Regions from separate parts of the Homo sapiens genome. Here region 1 is linked to region 2. The links are contacts of gene promoters, found by promoter capture Hi-C in blood cells and fetal thymus (Javierre and others, 2016). All regions are on one chromosome and are shown on one strand. The core of a region is centred on a gene start or on the middle of the fragment in contact, and the rest is flanking DNA. Distances in the headings are between cores, read along the strand shown. Region 1 holds the start of NACC2 (NACC family member 2). Region 2 holds the start of NOTCH1 (notch receptor 1).

Region 1 (7,455 bases), core at 393-2,892, 450 kb after region 2:
TTCCCATCCCTGGAGGGCCACGGGTCCTAGTGGGTAGCCCCTTGAGGCCTGCCCCAGGGCTGGAAGCAGCTCCAGGCATCTGTCTCTGGGATTCACGATTCTCAGGGGCTTGGGGTAGCTATGCTCACTGAGAGATCCTGCAGAGATTGTAAAGTCAGGCCTAGGAAGCACCAGAACCCTGAGGCTGCTGAGCTCATGCCCTGGGTGTAGGAGGCACTCAGAACCCTCCTACCCCACCTCCTTCCCACAGTAGACTGCGGGGCGGGTTTGGAAGTGGCAGTGGTGGGGGGAGGGGGGTTGGGGTGTGGGACCTGGGACTGCATTTAGGTCTAGATGGGACTCTGTGGGGAGAGCCCAGAGTCCCTGCGGGGTTCCATACTCACCCCCATACAAGGCAAGCCAGGGAGTGAAGTGTGTGTGTGTGTGTGTGTGTGTGTTCTGGACGCAGAGCTGAATAGAACCTAAAGTTGGGGTCAAGGGCCAGTCTGTGGCCAAGATCAAGGGCCTAGCTTGAGGTTGGGGTGACAAGAACCTGGCCAAGCTTCTGATGATTTGTCCAGGGAATGACCTTGGCTGACTGTGCCAGAAGGGCTGTAGCCCCAGGTTTCTGATCCCCAGAGCCCCAAAGGCGTTCTCTGGGATGCTGGTGGCCATCTCCTTCTCAACCCTTCTCCCAGCGCCCTCGCTCGGGACCACTGAGGCGGTATCACTCCATTCTCCTGCAAGGACCCTTGAGCGTGCTGTGGGAGTGAGGCTGGCTTAGCCTCTGAGGACCACTGCAGCCTGTCCTGACCTCAGGCCCCAGGTTAGGGGGCAGCTGAGGAGGGGTCTCTGGGTCTTTCCGGGTGTGTGGCCGTTTTATTTCCGTGCCCTTGTTTTAAAACTGCACCTCTGTCCTCAGGAGCGTGGCCTTGGGCAGATGGAGAGCTGCGTGGCCGGTGCCGGAATGACTGTCAACGCCCCAGTGCGCCCGGATCACACCAGGCCTGAAGGCAGCGCCAGGCCCAGTCCAGGCAGCTTGCAGTTCCCGGGCCGCAGGGACGGGCGCCGGAGCCCCGCAGACGTTCGCCCAAGGGCGCTCCCGTATCCTCGTCTTTCACGGCCCGCCTGAGCGTCCAGGGCGGCTGCGGATGCGCGCACTTCCCCCGCCCGGATCCCGGAGGCTGCACCGTGCGGACGCGACTGCCGCGGGCAGGGCGCGCGCCGGGGGCGGGGTAGGGGGGCCCGGGGGCTCTCCCGGGCTTAGCGAGTCCGGCCGAGGCCGGGGCCCGGGGAGGGCGGAGGGCGGCGCTCCAGGTCCTTTCCCGACCCGGCCGCCGAGCTCCGTCCTCTGCGCCGCGGCGTCCGGCTCCCGCCGGGTGTCCCGCGCAGGGTCGACCGCCGGCAGCTCCGGAAGGAGGACGCGCGAGGGGCGAGGAGCTGCCGCCTCCCCTCCCCAGCGCTCGGGGTTCCCCACGCCCCGCCGGCCCCCACTGGGGACCCTCCCGGCCCCCGGACCCCAGCCCCGACCCCGGGAGCCCACCTGGCTGCCAGTGCGCGCGCGCGCGCGGCCGGCGCGCTGTCCCTTTAACGGCCCGCGGGCACCTCCCCCGCCGCCGCCCCGCCCCCGCCGCGGTGCGGCCGCCGGTGCTGGGCGAGGTCGGAGAAAGTCCATGGGAGCCGGAGCGCCGGGACGCCAAGCACTTCCTGCCGCGGGCGGCGCGCCGCAGCTGCCCAGGCCGGACCGGGCCGGGCGCCCGCAGGTACCGCCAACTTGGCGCGCGCGGCCGCCCCCGGGTTACGCCGCCGGGCGGGGTCGTCCCACGGGCCGGGCCCGCACTTCCCGCAAACTCCGCGGCCGCCCAACTTGGCGCGAGCCCCCTGCCGCAGTGCCGGCCGCGCGGGGCGGGTGCGGCCGAGTTCCGCGCCGGCCCGGGCGTGCGCGCGGGAACCGGCCTCGGGAGCCCGCGGAGGGGGGCCGGGCGGGGCCGGGGGGTCCCGGCGGAGGCGCCCGCGACCCCGGGCCGGGACGCCGCGCCGCGCGTTCGGGGAGACCCCGGCTCCGGGCGTCCCGGGGCGCTCCCCGCCGCCTGCTGGGTTTCCCTGGATTTCTGGGGACCCGCGCGGCCTCCCCAGGGACCCGACTGGCCGATCCAGCCCTCCGGGTGGGGAAGCCGGGGCAGGACTGGCCCGGGGCCAGGGCGGAGGTACCCACCCCTCCCGGCGCATCTGCGCAGCTGCCTGGCCCAGCCGGGCCCGCGCCTCGCCCTCCCGGTCCAGGTGGGCCCGTTCGTGGGTCGTCACCGCCTCCCGCGCCTCCCCCACTCGGGCCCCAGCCTGGGGAGAAACTGGGGTCCGGCCGCAGGGGGAGGGGGCTCTGCCTCTTGCCAGCTTCTGTGCCTCTGCGGAGCTGAGGTCGGGGGGCCCCAGCTCCTTCTCTAAGAAACTCAGCGGAGCCCGGGGCCCGCCGCGCACCCCGCACGGCCAGGGCGGACCGAGGCCTTCCGACGGAGTTTCCTGCTTCTCTTGCTGGGATCGTGTGGGGTCGGAGGTCAGAGGTCACCTCCCAGCCCCTCTGCCAGGCTCTGGGGGAAGTTTGGTCTTGGACTCTCGTCGTGGAGCCGCTTAAACCTGTGGGTCTGAAGGCCGCGAGGCCGGGTCCCTGGAGTTGGCCTCCCAGGCCGTTCCACTCCCTCCCCCAACCCCCGCGCGGGGCCTCCGGATTGGAGGTGTTTCACCCACGTGCTGGTGGGCCCGTCTCCCTGGGCCGCTGGGTGCCCTGAGCTGTGTTCTCTGCTGCGCGTTCCTTCCTGTGTGTGGCGGGGGTGCTGACCCGGGGGTGCCCAAGGCAGCCCGGACTCCCATCCCGTGGAGCTGCCTCCGGGAGCGCGTGCACCTTGGTGTTCCCGCCCGCCAGCGCGGCCGCACTCTCCTGCCAGAGTCCGTGTCCCTCCAGGTCGCCCCTTCTTCTCACCCACCCCTCTTTTCGTCTGGCAGGCTCCTGACCTCCTTCCCTCCTGTTCTCCAGTGGGACACTCAGCTCAGCATTCTGCAGGGTGTTTTAGCCTGTAGCACCCCCCAGCAGGGGCGCCTAGAGTTAGGTCAGGGTTCAGGCAGCCCCCGCCCCACCCGCCACCTCTCAGCCACCCACCCCTTCTTCTCCCGGCCACCGTTGGAGCACCCCTCTGGTCCTCTGTGGGGCCTTTCCCAGCCCCTCCCTTAAAGAGGCCTCTTGGCGTTTTCCCCTGGGGTCACTGTTGGGTGGTAGCTGGGCCAGAGTCCAAGGGGAGGAAATAAAAGGAGCTGCCACCCAAGGTGGTGGCCCCCTGTCCTTTCGGCAAAGCCACTTGGAATGGGCACAGAGAGTGGAACAAGATATCACTTGTCACTTCTTAGTGGCCAGGGATCCTTTCGCAGTGGTCACACCCAGGGCTCGATGGTGCTGGCCCTGGCCTGGCGGGAAGGCGGGGAGGAGCCACCCGGGAGATCTCCTGCTGGGAGCAGTGGGAGCTGGGCTGCTACAGGCTGCGAGAACAGGCTCTGTTCTTTACCACCGGCTGCTGGAAGGGTTCGCAGGGCTGCTCTGCCCTGGGCAGGGGGCTAGTGGTGACTTTTAAAAAATTCTTCAATCCTCCCTTTGTTTTCCAATTAAAGCATGAGGCTGCATTATTCATGAAACAACAGTGACGATCTTGGTGCTGAGCGGTTCTTCCAGGCCTGCACTCCTCTTGGCCTCTGCCTCCGGAGTCCTGCTTTCCTGGTTTGTGGGCAGTGTGGTCTCCCAGGCCCGAGGGATGGAATGGGGAACCAAGGTGTTGTCCTTTTCGGGATGTTGAGTTCCCAAGGTTCCACCTTGTGCCCCTTCCTCTGAGGTCTGTGCCTCTGACCTGTGTCCCTGGAACGCACAGGGCACCGAGTGCCCAGTGGCCCCAGCCACCGTCAGTGGGGCAGAGCCCATGTTCCTTCCTCAGCCAGCCCTGTTCTAGCCACCTCCACACACTGTCCCCAGGCTGCCTCTCTGCATCTCACAGCCCCTTGGGGTCACTCCATCCCCTTTGCAGGGTCACGCAGTGGGTTCCGAGATCCAGTTGGACTGTGGCCGGTGGGATGAGGGTCGGAGTCCACAGGGGGGCAGCAGGTGGCACCCCTTACCCCAGGATACACCAGCATGTTTCTCCGGAGAACCAAGGCCTTCTACAGACCCCAGTGTAACGAACACATTTGGGAACTTGACTATGGGGCCCCCTGACTCTGCTGCTCCTCCGGCCCAGTCCACCTTCACCTTGGTAGCACATGTCCCTGCCTCAGTGGCCCAGGCTGACCAGCCTCCCATTGTGGTTCTGAGGACAAGGTAGGCCACCTTCCACTTCAGGGTGACATTTCTGGCCTGGGCTGAGGAAACCTGGGGCTGGGCTTCCAGGCGTGGCTCGAAGGAGAAGCAAAGCCCTGTGGTGTGAGGCCGTGGAGCGCCCTCCAAGGCAGGAGAGAAGTAGCGCTAGCCCGTCTGGACGCTGGACCTGAGCCGCCGTCTGATGCATGTGGGCAGGTGCGGGAGTTTGTGAGGTCTGACTGGGTCTGGTCTCACTGGGGGCTGATGAGGGGTCTTGGGAACCTGTGTAGAGCTGGCTCACTGGGGCCTCTCACCCCATCTCCGGTCAGGCTCCCCGGCGGTGAGTGTCTGCAGACCCAGCTCCCTGGGTCCTGGGCCTTCCCCGAAGTGCCCTCTCCCCAGCATTTCGTTCCTTTCCTGGCACCCTCTCTGGGCACGCCCTTGGTCCTCCCAGAGGTGGGCAGTCGGGCCTTGGGTGGGGGAGCTTGGCCAGCGTTTCTCTACTCTTGTCTCCCCACTGGGCCCCAGTTCAGAGCTGTGTGTGGCCCCCACACCGGCCTCCCTGAGGCGCCCCCTAATCCCCAGGTGGATCTCGTTTCCCTTTCAGCCTGTCCAGAGTCACAGAGGAGATGTGACTGGAAGGTTGTTTGGGCCTTGGCTGTGGGGGCCGGGGAGCGAGGTTACCCAGGCCAGGGGCTGCTGCTCCACGCCTGCCTCCGCCTCTGTTGCGGGGCAGGGATCCTGGTGACCTCTGTTTTTTTGTTTGTTGTTGTTGTTGGTTTTTTTTTTAAGCAAATCCTTGCTCTCACCAGCCCTGGCTCTTGGTGAGATGAGATCATTTGTAAAATATGCCTCCTGGCTGGCTGGGGCTCCTTACTGTGTCACCTGCAGCTGCCCATTTGCTGGGAGCCCTAGCTCCCTCAGCTGTGGCCTTCCTGCGTTTGCTGTTTACGGTTTGGGTTTTGGAAGCACACACCCTTGTATAGGGTCTCAGCAGAGCGCAGTGGGCAGGCGTGAAGGCATCTGTCTGGAAGTATTGGTTGCTTGTCATTTGGGGACATGAACTCCGGGACCGGCACTCACCCCTGTCCACACAGGGGATCAGCCTGGGAGCTAGTCTGAGTAGGGGAGGGCATTTGGGACCCTGACCCAGGGCTCCTGGGGCCCCACCACATCCCCAGTGTCTGCTTGCTGGGCCTGGGTCCTCACTGGAGCACTTGGCAGCCAGAACCCTGGGCTCAGGTCTCCTGGGAGAACGCCCAGCCCAGGCTGTGTGACCTTGAGTGAGGAACCCGTCCTCCCTGAGGCCGTCCTGCTACAGAGTAGCATCCTCTGCCTCCTCCGAGGAGCTGGAGGCTGAATGTGGGCAGCCCGGCCTTTCTGCCTTCATGCCGGCTGGGGCTGGCCTGGGGGCTGTTGGGCCAGTGAAGCCACTGAATCCCATGTAAGGCTCACTACCCTTTAAGAGGAGGCCGCCATGGAGTCTCCCGGGAGAACAAGAGGCAGGCTTTTCTCCAGAGGTTGTTTGCAGGGACCCACAGGGAGGAGAGGCTGGCTCCGGGTCTCTCTAAAGGAATCTCCCCTCCCCCAGTGCGGGGCCCTGGCATCCAGGAGGGCACAGGGCCATGGGCGGCCGCGAGCTCCTGGGCCCGCCCAGCTCCTGCCCCTGTGCCTGGGAAGCAGGCAGGGCTGGGGGCGGGGAACAGAGGGGCCTGAAAGTGCCCATATATAGTCACTGGGGTGAACGGCAAAGCCATGCTGCAGAGATGCCTCCCAAGCCCAGGGCTGGCCGGCCCCAGCTCAGCCACCGGGGCCCCGAGGGCAGCCCGGCCCTGGGCTGGGGGTGGCCTCCCTGGTAGTCTGTGAAGGGGTAGAGCATCAGCCTCCGCATAGTCATGCCTCAAGAAATGTTTGTTGATTGAAAATAAAAGTCCCCCCAGCCCTCCATAGTCAGGCTTGAGGACATTTCAGGAGCTGATGTTGGAATCTGGAGGCTGGAATCCGGGCTGTGCTGTTGGCCAGAGCTGCCTGGGGTCCCTCATGGAGGGCGTTGGGAGCTGGGTGCCTGCTGAGGGAAGACTTGCTAGCAACCCAGCCCCCACCCCACAAAATGCTAGTGCCCCCCTCTTTACAGGGACACTTCAGATGCTCCCTCCCCACCCCTACTGTCCTGGGGCTTCCGCCCAGTGGGCTGGTGTTTTCTGGAGGAGTTACCTTCTCACTCCTGGGCACTGCCTAGAGTCAGGGGGCAGCTGTGGGCCTTCCTTGGTTCTTCTGCGGCGGTCTTGGAGGGAGTCAGCGTTGGCCCTGCCTTTGGATCGGAGCAGAAGGAAGTTGTCCCACATCTTCCTCCTCCCAGGGACCCCTGAGGCATCCCCTCTGGCCAGGGCCCCCACCCAGGCCCTGGGCATCTGCCTCGGGGGCTGTGCCCATCTCCCTTCTACCACCCAGCTGGTGTCTGTGCCAAGAAAGGGGAAGTACCATCTTTGCTGAATTCTTGACTTTTGTGCTGTTAAAAAATCAGCTTTAACAGAGTTTTGCTCATTTAATTTCATTTCCATTGCACAGCTAAGCGCCTTTGTTAAATTTTGTATATTGATACTTTTTGTTGTCAGCAGTTTATTCTTTTTTTTTTTGGATATAAATCCATTAGGGTGAGAGAAGATTAAAAAGATACATTACAATTAAAATGTTAATGAAATCCGTATCACACAACTTTTGAAACCCTTTAGGCATTAATCTTGCCTGTGTCATGTCCATTAACTTTGGCTATTCTTATTCCACACTGACCCCTGCTGAGAGATTTGTGCTATAATTGGATTTTTTTTTAATAAAAAAGAAAAAAAAAAAGCTTTTAAGAAAATAGAGGTTGAGTGGTCGGCCGTGGCTCCTAAATGAAGAGGGAAAGTAGAAGAACATGACTCACTCTGTTGGGGCTGGGGTCCCCCATTCTGAATGGGGACAGGGGTCACCCAGGGCCTCCCCCAACTGTGGATGTGCCAAGTGGTGTAGAGGTACATGAGTTGGGGGAGCCTCAGAGGAGGGAGGGCACCCCGAGGGTGGGTTCACCTTCTTGGGGAGAGGCCCCCAGCGCTGGGGGAGGGGCTAACAGGAGCCCCCCACCAGGTGGGGTTGTGGGGGGTGAC
Region 2 (4,351 bases), core at 1,500-3,999:
TTAGGGGTGTGCTCTGCTCTCGAAAGTCCCCACAGCAGCCGCAAAGGAGGGGCCTGGTTGGGCCAATGTCAGCAGGGCCTCCTTAGCTCACCCTGACAATGGTACCCCCATTTCTCTGGCAGCAAACAAGGGGGAACTGACCCAGTTCAGTCTCCTGGGGTGCAACGCCTAAGCCACTCTCCCCTCAGCACCCGCAGGGGGCCTCTGAAGAAGAGAGGGCTGCAGGACACGTCTGCCTCTCCCCTCCGCAAACCAGGCTCTGCGGCCCCATCTCATCTGCTTCCAGGCTCCCTGGCCAGCTTGGGAACAGCCCCATTCATTCGGGGTACCCCTGGAACCTTGCCCCAGCTCCCACCACAAGTTGGGACAGGAAGCCCAAAGTGACTCCTACAGGGGAGGCCTGGCGGCACTGCACCCCAATTCAGCTTCTTGGGGTCCTAGCCCCCACCCTCCCATTGGGTTTCTGGAGTGGCTGGGGTGCCCTGCACACAACCTGCTCTTGTTTCTCTTTAGTCCCCGCAATGCCCGCTGCCCAGGGCTGCCTCCCGACCTGTAGGAGAAGGTCTCCAGGCCCTAGGCCAGCAGATGTACTCCTGTTGTGTCAGGACCCCAGCCTCCCCCGACTGCCCACACCCGCTGGCCTGACAAAGAGGAATGGGGAGCCCGGACAACTTGTGAATGAAAAAGCTTCTCACCTACTTGCCAGGGGCCTACCCCCTTCCCAGGCTGGTGGGGAGGTGAGGCCCATCCCCCTCATCCCTGGCTTCTCCTCGGCCACAGCTGTCCATGGGGTACTCCCGGCTGTGGGTGGTGCAGGGGTTGGGAGCTGGGAGGCCGAGGCCTGTGCTTCCCTCGGGCCTGTGCACCCGGCCGCACCATCCGTAACGCGGGCTTATGAGCGTGCCTGGCTGCTGGGTGGCCTGACGGGTGGACACCGAATGGGCCACTCTCTTCTCTGCTGGTAGAGGATGGAGGCCCAAGGTGGAGGTGCTGTCGGCACAGCTGGGGCAGACCAGGGGAGACCCCCTATCCAGGGATCCCCTCCTCCCCTCCCAGGCCGCCCCTCCGCAAAATGCTGAGGACTGGCCCCCGGGCCTGGGCTACATGGGCCATTACTTCTGGCCTGGGGCCCACAGGCAGAGATGCCAATGGAGGCACACAGGCAGTCGCACCCGCACCCGATCAGCACCAGGCCTGAGGCCTTCGGGCCTCCCTATGCCCCACCCCACCCCCACCCACCAGGAGCAGAGGACGTCGTGGTGGGCAGAGTCCTCAGCCTGGGAGCTGCACAGCCCCGCGCTTCCTTCTATGGAAAATCTGCTCCTCCAGGCTGCCTGGCTGCTGTTACATAAACATCTCTGCTGCCTCCAGGCGCCTCCTCTCCTGGGGCGCTGACCCCAAGATGTTACCCCAGGCCTGCAGAAGTGAGGCCAGATTCTGGGAGGACGCAGGCGAGGGAGGCTCCCAGCAGCAGCTACAGGGGCGGGACAGGCCGCCTGCACTGGCTGTTTCCAGAGTGCTCAGCATTTGGCAAGAGGTGTGCCAGGAAAGGCTTGCTGGGGTCAGGTGTGAGATTTGTCCTGCTTTCTGTGCCTGCCTCTGCCACCATGCTCTGGGGTTTCTGCAGCCCTCCCCCCAGGCCCCCACAGTCCTAGGTCCCTCCCAGCCTTTCGGTCTCCCCGCAGGGCAGGCTTAGCCCTCCTACTCCAGGAGGGGCGCCGGGACACGCGCCTTCTGCCATCGCACTCACCACCCTGTGTTGGGGTGGGGAGGGGGCGCTGTCTGTCCCTGGCACGAGGCCGTGAACTTTGCGCAGGGACTATGGCAGGCATTTTGGACTCCTGGCGCTTAACCAGGCTTGGCACAGGGTGCCCGTGCCTGGCATCGTGGTGGAGAAATAAATCAGCCGGAAGGAGCACGTGGGAAGGGCTGCGCCGGCGCCAGCGGCAGATCCGCCCGACCCGTTTGTGCTTTCTGGGGCCACCTTAGGCAGGCGGCGCCCGGGCAGGAGGAGGACGGTGACCGAGGAGCGTGTCGACGCGGGTCCCCCTTGGGGGAGCGGGGCACAATCCGTCCGCGAGGCACTGGTCCCGGCTGCTCCCTCGGGGCGCCCGGAGTCCCCTGCCCAGAGGCCGCGGCGCCCCCATCCCTCGCGGTCAAGTGCTCGGGCAATCACGGCCAGGGATGTCTGGCGGCGATCGATCCTCTGGACGCCTAAAGCCGCGGCCACGGGGCCCTCGGGAGGGAGTGAAGCCGCTGGGCTAGGGGCGCACACACGGCTAGGCCACTCTCCCAGAGCCCTGCCCCGGGCCCGGGGTCCCCCAACGTGGCCTCAGCTGCTCCCCGCCCGGCCCAGCGCACGGTGCACACGGCTGTCCGCGGCCTCGCCCTCCCCATTCCGCCCCGGGCTCCTCCGCTTATTCACATGCAAATTTCAGTCGCCAGTTGTCGCCGAGCGCGGCAACCGCCAGAGCCGGATCCTTCCGCAGCCCCGGCTCAAACTTTTGGCCTCTGAAAACTTTCAAACGAGAAGTAGTCCCAGGCGCCCGCTCCCGACCCACGCCGCGCCGCCGGGTCCCTCCTCCCCGGAGAGGCTGGGCTCGGGACGCGCGGCTCAGCTCGGGGAGGCGCAAAGGCGGACGGGGCGTGCGGGAGGAGGTGGCCGCGGAGGGGGCGGGGGGACCGGCGGGGGTGGGGCCGGGCGGGGCGGGGCCGGCGGGGGCGGAGCGCACCTCGACTCTGAGCCTCACTAGTGCCTCGGCCGCGGGAGGGAGCGCAAGGGCGCGGGGCGCGGGGCGCGGGCGCGGGCGCGAGCGCAGCGAAGGAACGAGCCGGGCGCGGAGCCGGGCCCGGGGGCCTGCGAGAGCACAGCGCCGCCAGCCAGCCGGGGAAGAGAGGGCGGGACCGTCCGCCGCCGCCCCGGGACCGTACGCCGCGCGTGTGCGTCCCAGCCCCGCCGGCCAGCGCAGGAGGCCGCCGCCCGGGCGCAGAGGGCAGCCGGTGGGGAGGCATGCCGCCGCTCCTGGCGCCCCTGCTCTGCCTGGCGCTGCTGCCCGCGCTCGCCGCACGAGGTAGGCGCCCACCCACCCGCGAGCCCCCACTTTCCGCGCCCTTTGGAAACTTTGGCGGCGCCCGGCGCGCGCGCCCCACGGCTGGGAGCGGGCGGCGGGGAGGCCAGCATGGAGAGGGAAAAGCGGGCGGCCCGGGGCGTGGGGTTCTGGAGTCCCGGGATCAGGGAGGACCGACCTTCCCCCTCGATCCCCCCGTGGAGGCGGACTCGCGCCGCCCGTGCCTGGAGCCGAGTTAGGAGGCCGGTGTGGGGTGCTGGGGCCCCGGAGGCCCTACTCCGGGCCCGCCCTTCACCCGCCGCGCGTGGGGCTTGCCGCCGGTCGGCCGGGCGGGCGGGCTGCCTACTATTTTTCGATTTGAATAGAGTCGGTTTTGGTTTCCTGTTGCTTCTCCGGGCCATTTATCTTCTTTCTTCTTCGCCTCTGGCCCACGCCGGGGCGGATGTTGGGGCGCGGAGTGTGGGCTCTGCGGCGCCGCGTTCGCCTTCACTGACCCGCGCGGCCGGGCTGGGTCCCCGGGCTCCCGGTCGCCCCGCCCGCCGGTGCCCCCCAGCCCGGCTCTCAGTTTGGGGGAGGGGTTGCGTAAGAAGCCGCCGCGCCCGGGGGGACTGAACTTTCCTTTTGCTTTGCGGAGTTGAAGTTTGGAAAGCTTGGGGGCGGAGAGCGGGACGCGGGTGGGGGGCTCTTACATTTCTCCCCGCCGCACAGCGAGCGGGGTCTCTGGGGAATCGAGTGATTAATCCACTCTTTCTCCGAGAGTTGGAGGCGAGAATTATCTGTCCTCTTCCAGAAAGTGCGGCTCTGTGTCACACCCCCCTCCCCCGTTTCTCAGCCCCGGTAAGATGGGGAGGGAGGGGCTTGAGTAATTGATCCCTTCTCGAGATGGGGTCGAATTCCTTCCGAATGGGGGACCTTCATCCCCCTCCTGTGGGTGTATGGGGGCTGCCCTGGAGATGCGCGCCCGCGGAGGCAGGTATTGGGTGTCGGCGGAGGCGGGGCCGCGTCCCCAGGGTGCTGTCCCGGTGCCCCTGGAGGCGGCCCCGACTCCACAATGGGCCGCTCTGATTCTGAGGCGGAGGCCGGCGCTTTGTTGGCGGGCGGGGTAGCGGGCGAGCAGCTGTCGCATTTTCCCACGGGCGGGAGCTGAGTGTGGCCACCCCCCCTCCCCCCGTCCAGCTCTGCCCCCTTGCAGAACGGGTTTGAACAGAGGCAATCTCGGCGGCTGGATGGGGGGCCCTGCCCTGCCAGACTCCTCAGTGAGCCTCCAGGGTGGGGGGCAACGC

What was found. The method cuts DNA at HindIII sites, captures the fragments that hold promoters and counts their contacts. A CHiCAGO score of 5 or more calls a contact.
Region 1: a contact is called between the fragment with the promoter of NACC2 here and the fragment with the promoter of NOTCH1 in region 2, in 1 of 17 cell types (erythroblasts). The highest score is 5.6, in erythroblasts.

What each region holds. Positions count from the first base shown.
Region 1 is chr9:136,089,476-136,096,930 of GRCh38, reverse strand. NACC2 (NACC family member 2) reads left to right here and starts at 1,642. Exons shown (of 6, transcript NM_144653.5): 1 at 1,642-1,742. RefSeq lists silencers at 1,180-1,279, 1,600-1,729 and enhancers at 2,935-3,626, 5,706-6,398. The HindIII fragment of the contact is 6,619 bases long and covers 544-7,162 here.
Region 2 is chr9:136,544,446-136,548,796 of GRCh38, reverse strand. It overlaps NOTCH1 (notch receptor 1), which reads left to right and starts at 2,749. Exons shown (of 34, transcript NM_017617.5): 1 at 2,749-3,071. The coding sequence starts at 3,011. MIR4674 (microRNA 4674) reads left to right here and starts at 2,538; the gene lies at 2,538-2,624. It overlaps NALT1 (NOTCH1 associated lncRNA in T cell acute lymphoblastic leukemia 1), which reads right to left and starts at 955. Exons shown (of 3, transcript NR_121577.1): 1 at 696-955. RefSeq lists enhancers at 981-1,892, 3,865-3,914 and silencers at 2,085-2,184, 2,525-3,084, 3,105-3,364, 3,585-3,634. The HindIII fragment of the contact is 3,030 bases long and covers 690-3,719 here.